3 separate regions of the Homo sapiens genome follow, and all the other regions are linked to region 1. Evidence: promoter capture Hi-C in human tissues and cell types (Jung and others, 2019). All regions are on one chromosome and are shown on one strand. The core of a region is centred on a gene start or on the middle of the fragment in contact, and the rest is flanking DNA. Distances in the headings are between cores, read along the strand shown.

What was found. Contacts are between HindIII fragments. The study calls those that stand out against the background at their distance.
Region 2: a contact is called between a fragment that was not itself captured here and the fragment with the promoter of BRINP3 in region 1, in 3 of the 25 tissues and cell types used here (IMR-90 fibroblasts, aorta and hippocampus).
Region 3: a fragment that was not itself captured here is called in contact with the fragment with the promoter of BRINP3 in region 1 in 2 of the 25 tissues and cell types used here (dorsolateral prefrontal cortex and hippocampus).

The regions. Positions count from the first base shown.
Region 1 is chr1:190,476,533-190,479,321 of GRCh38, reverse strand. BRINP3 (BMP/retinoic acid inducible neural specific 3) reads left to right here and starts at 1,458. Exons shown (of 8, transcript NM_199051.3): 1 at 1,458-1,874. It overlaps BRINP3-DT (BRINP3 divergent transcript), which reads right to left and starts at 1,062. Exons shown (of 3, transcript NR_110716.1): 1 at 830-1,062; 2 at 182-240. The HindIII fragment of the contact is 15,526 bases long and covers 1-2,789 here.
Region 2 is chr1:190,519,536-190,522,324 of GRCh38, reverse strand. No RefSeq gene overlaps it. Among named protein-coding and RNA genes, the nearest start is that of BRINP3-DT, 43 kb to the right of the region's middle. The HindIII fragment of the contact is 4,269 bases long and covers 1-2,789 here.
Region 3 is chr1:190,431,367-190,434,155 of GRCh38, reverse strand. The region is part of intron 2 of BRINP3 (BMP/retinoic acid inducible neural specific 3); the gene reads left to right. Among named protein-coding and RNA genes, the nearest start is that of BRINP3, 45 kb to the left of the region's middle. The HindIII fragment of the contact is 5,643 bases long and covers 1-2,789 here.

The DNA.
Region 1 (2,789 bases), core at 209-2,708:
AAACCCTCTACTTCAATTTCACCCTTACAAGCTACTACTCTCCTAGGGAAGAGGAAAAAAAAATTTCCACTGACCCAGCTCGTGATTTACATACAGAGAGCAAATAAATGAATGGAGTGGGGGATGGGGCAGTGAGAAGCAATCTGTTTCTTTTTCAACCGCAGAAAATAAGATTACTTACCAAGAACATTTTTATCCAGGGCAAATGTTTATTCCCTCTATCATTCAGCGCCTCAGTCTCTGCAAGAAATCAATTTCCACTCTACCTTTCCCTCCTATTTCTAAAAAAGAGAGTGAGGCGGATAATTCTTAAGCTTCGGGGTCCGGAGGAAGATAGAGCTAGAGCGGAGGGCAAAAGACTCCCACAGCGCTCTTTATACAGATCCCAGCTCTGAGAGCGAACCCATGGGGAGGGGGCGGGGGATCATCTCTAAGGAGAGTACTCCGAGTAGGGAGGGGGATTCATTCTGCAGCCAAAATATAAATCATCTACAAACAGATTACTAGCCTCTCAGTCACACAGGCAGTTCCCTTGGGAAACCGGTTTCAAAGAGGAAGAAGTTCCTGGAGAGAGAGAGAGAGAGAGAGAGAGGGAGGGAGAGAGAGAGAGAGAGAGAGACTGGGGTTTGGACTTGCAGAGGGAATGGGGCCAAGGAGAGGAATAGGGAGAAGGAATAAAGCTAATCTTACCGATCGATCAGGCGATCGTTTGTTCAGTATTGGGACACGAAAATGGCAAGATAATGCATTCGGCAGCAAAGCCATTTCTGGCACACTCTCTCTCAGTTACTGCAGGAATCAGAGGGGAAGCGGGCGCCTCGAAACCTACCACTTGCTCCCCAGGGACCGTCCTCAGAACCTCCAAAGCTCTAGCTTCTAATGCAAGGCGTTCGGAGCTGAGGGTTCAGGTGGAAGTCAATTGTCTTGAGTCACAGGCAGCAGGAACGCCAAAGAAGTGGGACCTGGGAGGGCTGCTGCCGCCGCTGCTGCATCTAACCACGGTTCCCCGTCCCCTTGCCTAAGCCTCACCGGCACAGCGCCCCCGAAAGCGCCTAGCGACTCGGCCTCCTCCGCATCTTCAGCCCTTCGATCACCGCCCGCACCCCCCACCCCCCACCGCCTCGTGCAAATCGCTGATGATTTGGTCATCGTAATGTGACCGGTCGTAGTGGTTTATTTGGGGAGTGGGGGAATTGGTTGTGTTGGGCTTCCTTACTACGCCTCCCTCAGTTGCTGCAAGTGAAAATGTTCAAGGGAAATACTAGTGAAATGCACTGATGGAATACTATTAATCCTAATGATAATGGTCCCAACGCAGGTAACTCTTAAAGAACTGAGAGTGGGAAGATCAGAGCAGGATTTCCGAAGTGGTGCCCTCTTGAATTCTCATTGGATCCTCCCCAGCAGCCTAAATCATTCTTGCTGCTATATCTATCAGGATGACTACAGCCTTGCTCACTAGTTCTCTCTTTATCTCGTTGTCTTCAACACATCCTTTTACTTCTCTTTGCAGATTTATCTGTATTCCACCTCCTGTTCTCTGGGGTTACACAGCTTCTGCCTTTCCCCACTGTATGGGGATGTGCAGCCTGTAAATTTTCACTTTGCTTAAGGATCACCACGAATCACCCCCCACCATTCCCCACCCCCCCATATAAAGCATTTTCACATTCTGCTTTCTTGCCTTGGGGGTTCGTGGCTCTCTGTGTAACTGGTTTTTACTTGGTTACATGCCACCAGGAACTGCTGATTATTTTAAAGTCCTACTACCCTGCAGCTCACTACTTTACCTTGATTTGGAAGATCATGGAATATCTATTTGAATCCTGGATGTATTTTTCTCACAGTCTTCTTGCTTCCTGAAATTTCCTCTGGTAAGTTATTCTCTTTATCTGTTACTAGAAACTTAACTATTGCTATTTTTAATAAGCTCTGTTTTGTTGAAGTATTTCATTTTTCACATTTTTGTTACTTTCAGAACTGAAAGATCCATATGGCCATATTTATTAATTAGTATGTTAGTGGCAACTGCACTGCTAAGACATAACCCATGTAATGTATTACCCCAATATCCCATGTATTACCCCAATATCTTTTACCTTCTTTATTTTTAAAATATTTGTCCTCATTTATATTATGGGTTACACGGACATTAATCGCCCCCACCCCCATTAACCCTTCTTGGCACACATTCCTGTGCCATTTGAAATGTCACATTTTATAGGTTTATCTAAGAGAGAGCTTAAAAGAGACCTTCTGACAATTGCAAGGTCTGGAAAGTTCGCTAGTCGGATATTCAGAAGGTTGTTCAGGTCAGCATTTGTTCATGATAAGCAATTACATGACTGAAGGAAGACTTTGTTGCAAAGTGTATTTTTATGAATTTAGCAAGACCTTAAGCACTAAAATGCCACTGAATGGTAGGAAGAGGACTGTGAGTTTTGAGGGCACCATTTTTTTTTCTTAAAATATTTCAAATCACACATAAGCACGTTATTTTAGGCATTGTATTTTAATTCAGGCATAGTATTTGTCAGTACATTTCTGATTTTGTGAATTAGCTGGTGAACAGTTAATTGGACACAGAGTACTCATTTCAGAGAGGAGCAATCAGAAGAAACCCCTGATTATCTTGGTTCTGATAAATTGAAATTCAAGAATAGACTTTACATGAAAAATTTAATTGCCTCACTCTTCATACTTGTCTGCCCCCAACCCTTGTGTTTAATAGGCATGTTAATATGGTCAGTGCCTTTTGCTTTTATGAACATTTCTATGGACTTAACTGA
Region 2 (2,789 bases), core at 85-2,584, 43 kb before region 1:
AGATCGTGATTACTAGAAATTCTGTTTATCTTCATTGTTATACTGTCACTTTTCATTCAACATTATTAAGAAATCATTGTAGGAAAGAGAGTTTTGTGAACTACTACTAAAAATAGTGATAAGTCAGCCAATTAAATTCTAGAAATATGTTTCTACAATTTTTCTTTGAAATACTAAGATTGATTAGACATTTTAATATACACCTATTAAATTAGCTCTATCCTAACTTTCAAAATGAACACAAATCTTTCCACTGAAATTTCTCCAGTGTCTGGAAATAAATTTAATTTTTTATTGTTAATGTAATCATCTGTAGTTACTCTTCAAGTGGTTATAACATTATTTTAGACTGGTAATTCATAAAACTCTTAAGCGTATTAGAAAAGGAATTAAGATATTGTTCTATCTAGGTCACGTTCTTCAAATAAGGCTGTATCTAAATAACTATTTAGATGTTTCTAAATAGTCTAATATCTATCTAGTCTAATGTCTATGTAAAACAAAAACTTTTCCACTGCATTCAATCTATTCTATAAATAACAGAGATATATATTTGTGTATAAAATATATATGTATATTTATGTGTGCATAACATATATACACATATTTTATGTGTGTATAAAATATATACACATATTTTATATGTGTGTAGGATATGTATACATGTATACATTTGTGTATATGTGTATATGTCTTAAATATATGTTTATATATTTTATACACACACATGCATACACACACACACACACACACACACACATATACTTTAGCCTCTCCAGCAGCCATTTTGGATTATAGATATTTCTATGGCCCAAAATATGTATTTTAGAGAAAAAGATGGATAACTCTCTGATTTATTTTAGGAATCCACTTTTATCAGAACAAAGAGTATGTGTCTATTCGTATTTTTTAAACTGCCTCTGTTTCCCAGAACCCTGCTGCTACAATTAGAGGCTGAATACTTATGTAGAGTGGGAGAACCAGACTCTTTTTCACTACCAGTTCATAGCTAGACTAATCAGCTGTATGCCTGGAGTTTCTGGTTCATCTTCCCACTGAAGACTTGGATGCAGAATCACACTGTAGGTTATAGGGTTTATGATCTAACATGGTTGCTGGAGAGGCTGGATGAGACAATCTGAGAGGATGGTAAAATTGGGAGCTTATGGAAAAAACCTTGGAGAAGGAGAGGAAGGGCAAGTAGGAGCCAGGCAGATAAATATGCCTTAATCCATTTACTTTGTGCTGCAATGAGAAAGAGTTTCTCCTTGAAGATTTTTAGGAGAAGTCCCAAGTGTCCAGTAAGAGCTGTTGGAATAGCTTGCTCTATTTGTTTCAGACTTGTGTAAAATCAGTTGCTAACATGGCAATGCATTATTTCCATTGCAGCATAACTTTCTTGCCCCTATTGGTTTCCTTCTATTCTTATTACCTCATTTTTGCACCTTATAATAAGATACCCTTTCTTTGATTCTTTTCTTAGGTTCTTTTTTTTTTTTTTTTTTTTATGGAGGATTCAGGATAAGTCACCAGGGCTTAAAATAAGAGAAGAAGAAAAATGATAAGTTTAATGGATTTAAACACATAATCCCAAATTTTTCTTTTAATTTAAGCTATGGACAATTAAATACTCAAAAACAGCCAAAAAATGTATAGAGACTTGCAACATCACATACCAAAATCTAAGCCACTGTAATCAAATCATTATATTTTTGTATAGATATAAGAAAGATTACTCATAATCTAGGAATATATATTAATATATTTTAATTAATGATGAAGGTGGAATTTTAAGTGAAATTTAAAAAGTTTTAGTTGATACATGTGATTAGTGGGTGCCAATCAAGAAGAAAGTAAAGGCAAATTCCTATCTCACACTATAATTTTTGAAAAAATCCATAATTACTTACAGTATTAATAATTAAAATTTATAAGGACACCTAGGAGACTACATGTACAATATGAGGATAAGGAAGATCTTCCTATCTTACAAGCAATAAATAAAAAATAGATATTTATGCTATATTAAAAATCAAAATTTTTATGACAAGATTTGGAAATAATCCAACATAGATCATAAATAGCTAATATTCATAAAGCAGAGTTTAAAATAAAAATAAACATTTTGAAACATTTAAAAAACATTTTGAAACTTGAAAAGGAATATCAACATTTACAGAAAATATAAAATTTATTAACGGTTCAGTCTTGTGTTGCTTAATGACAGAGATATATTCTGAGAAATGCGTGGGTAGGCAATTTCTTTGTTGTGCGAACCTCATAGAGCGTCCTTACACAGACTTAGATGGTATAGCCTATCACACACCTAGGCTGTATACACCTGTTGCTCCTAGGCTACAGACCTTTACAAGCTGTTTTTTTTGTTTTGTTTTGTTTTGTTTGAGACAGAGTCTCGCTCTGTCACCCAGGCTGGAGTACAGTGGCGCGATCTCAGCTCATTGCAAGCTCCGCCTCCCGCGTTCATGCCATTCTCCTGCCTCAGGGACTCCCAAGTAGCTGGGACTACAGGCTCCCACCACCACTCCCGGCTAATTTTTTGCATTTTTAGTAGAGACGGGTTTCACCATATTAGGCAGGATTGTCTCGATTTCCTGACCTCATGATCTGCCCACCTCGGCCGCCCAAAGTGCTGGGATTACAGGCGTGAGCCACCGCACCCGGCCTACATCCTGTTATTGTACTGAATACTGCAGGCAATTGTAACACAAGGGTATTTGTGTATCTAAACATATATAAACATAGAAAAAGGAAGGCATAAACATTTAAAA
Region 3 (2,789 bases), core at 132-2,631, 45 kb after region 1:
GGGAACAAGACTTCATCTCAAAATAAATAAATAAATAAAAATAAATAAATAAATAACCATTTCTTTAGGTGAAACTAATGTTTGCTGGTAAAACAAAAAGACATGGTTATTTTACTCTGTCAATATTACTCCTAGTGTGGTCTTTACTACTCATATTAGTTATAATTTTTAACCAAAGTAACTAATTTCGCAGAAAACCGGGGTGGGGATAATAGAGAACTTTCTGTAGCTCATATTTTAGCAGACTAGAAATGCTCAAGAACACATATAATTCAACTTTTTACAGCACACACATCTTTTTCTCACCTTTATAAGTGGCAAAAATTTAACATGTTAATTAGCATGACCAAAACTTATAGCCTTTATATTGTAAACAAAAATTAAAAAGTATATGAAGGAGCAATTACAAGATTGATTTCTACTTTTCAGAAAATTGCAGGTCAGAAGACAATGGAACGAGGTAGATAGGTAGATAGCATAATAATTTCAGATTGTGACCATTGCTGCTAGGGGAATAAGGAGAACTGAAAGGGGAAAACAGAAGGGAAGTAATAGGAATAGAAATGGGTCTAAAAAGGGTTATAGTAAGAGATGGTATCTCTGAAAAGGTGATACTGAACTGAGGCCTGGAATATGAGGTTGGGCCATATAAATGCTGAAAGGGAAGAAAACACATTCCAGGCAAAGAAAATAGCAGAATCACTCATCAGAAAAAGGACTTGGAAGACAAGTAACATGATGTTAGAGGGTGTTAATCTTAGATGAGGTTAATAAGAACCCAGAAAGTAGATCGTAGAGGCTTTCAATGCCACAGTTAAGTTCAGGTATTATTCCAAATGCAGTGGGAGATCATTGAAAGTTTATAATCAGAGTATAATTGATTGATCTGTATACTTCTTAAAAGGTTCCTTGACAGTCTGAAGAGAATGGATTACAGAGCAAATAATAGCAGAAAGAAGAGAGCAGTTGCAATATTTGCAGTGGTCTATGAAAAGTAGGTGAAGATGTGGACAGGGGTCCATAAAACAAAACTAAAAACTTCCACCTTCTTTAATTCTAATTTGGAACAATATTCCGAACTACTCAGTTCGTTAATGATAACTAGGTTAATGAAACAATGTATTCTAAAATAGATTTTTTTGGTCTCTATTTCTTTTCAATAAATTTAACACTATAATTGATATATGTTTATGAAACATCTTATAAACTATGTATTTTTCATAAAAATTAAAAGCAAACATAGACTATGTTTATAATTGATGGATACAGACAACTAATCTTTTGCTACAGTCCCAAATAACATATATGACCATTAAGTGTGAATTTTAGGTAAATTTCAGCTTCTGGATGGTTAATCCTAAACTGTACCAGATCCATTATTTTGTTTGTTCTAATGGCAAATGCACAAATTTCCACAGATGGATTAAATTAGTATTCAGCTGAGAAACATGAAAACAGGATCATGCCTCTATTTAGTCCTGTAGACTCAGAAGCTTTAATTCAGTCCCACCTCTTAACGTGGCAGTAGAACGATAGGCAAAAGCAGAGAGTTCTTATCTTGTTCAAAAAGTATCAGCCCCGAAATGCCATGTTCTTTTATGCTGAAATTATAGACACTAAAACACACATGGTGCCTTAGAGGATGGAAATTTCAGATGGATAGATGGTTAAAGCTTAATAATTTAAAATCATGGATTTCACTTTTGTATTGTGTGATATGGCCTCTGAATATCACCATTCTTTAATGGCTCAAGGGTGAGTGGAAAATTTTGAACAAATAAGTTGCCAGCTGCATGTTATGGCCCTTAAACTAACTTATTTTAGAAATAGAAGAAATATACCTCTAAATGGCAACCAGAAATTGCATTGTTTTCAATTGGAGTAGAATTTCATGACTGCACTGTTGTGTTGAAGATGCAATTTCTGTTTTTTAGGTAAGAAAGCTATATTTACTGGGCCATAATTTGACTCATGTGAATGAAGGCAGTAGTAAAGTATGGATAGAAAGATTATGTTTTATAAAAATTATCAGGGATTTACATATTTGTTTTTTGCAGTTTTGTTTATTTCTAATGCACCATTTTTCCTATTTGTGTATATATATGAACATGTTTGTTAACGGTGTTCTCCTAGTACCTTTAGTATAGTCCTTTTAATAGCATTATTTGGTTCTTATTTTGGAGTGAAATAAATGTACATTAGAGGTCGTAAGTTTAGAAACAATTTTTTCTTATGAATTATTTCAGCATTAGAGATAAGCTTTTGAATAACATTTTCAAATAAAATGCATCATATTGCAGACTAATATTGATATCATTTGCATTATCTGGCAGAAAAACAAATACAGTGACACAGCAGAAAATTCTCTTTAAAAAAACTGTGGTTTACTTCTACGGTTTCTGAGCATGTGTGTGTTCATTTTCCCCAGGGATTTTTTTCATTTGAAGTGAAATCTTCACATTTTTCAGTTTAATAATTTATTAATATGATTATTTTAAAATAAAGAAGGCCAGGCTCACACCTGTAATCCCAGCACTTTGAGAGGCCGAGGCTGGCAGATCACTTGAGGTCAGGAGTTTGACACCAGCCTGGCCATCATAGTAAAACCCCATCTCTACTAAAAATACAAAAATTATCTGGGCATGGAAGTGCACACCTGTAATCCCAGCTACTAGGGAGGATGAGGCAGGAGAACAGCTTCACCCAGGGATGAAGTTTGCAGTGAGCTGAGATTGTGCCACTGCACTCCGGCCTGGGCAGCAGAGAGAGTCGCCGTCTAAAAATATAAG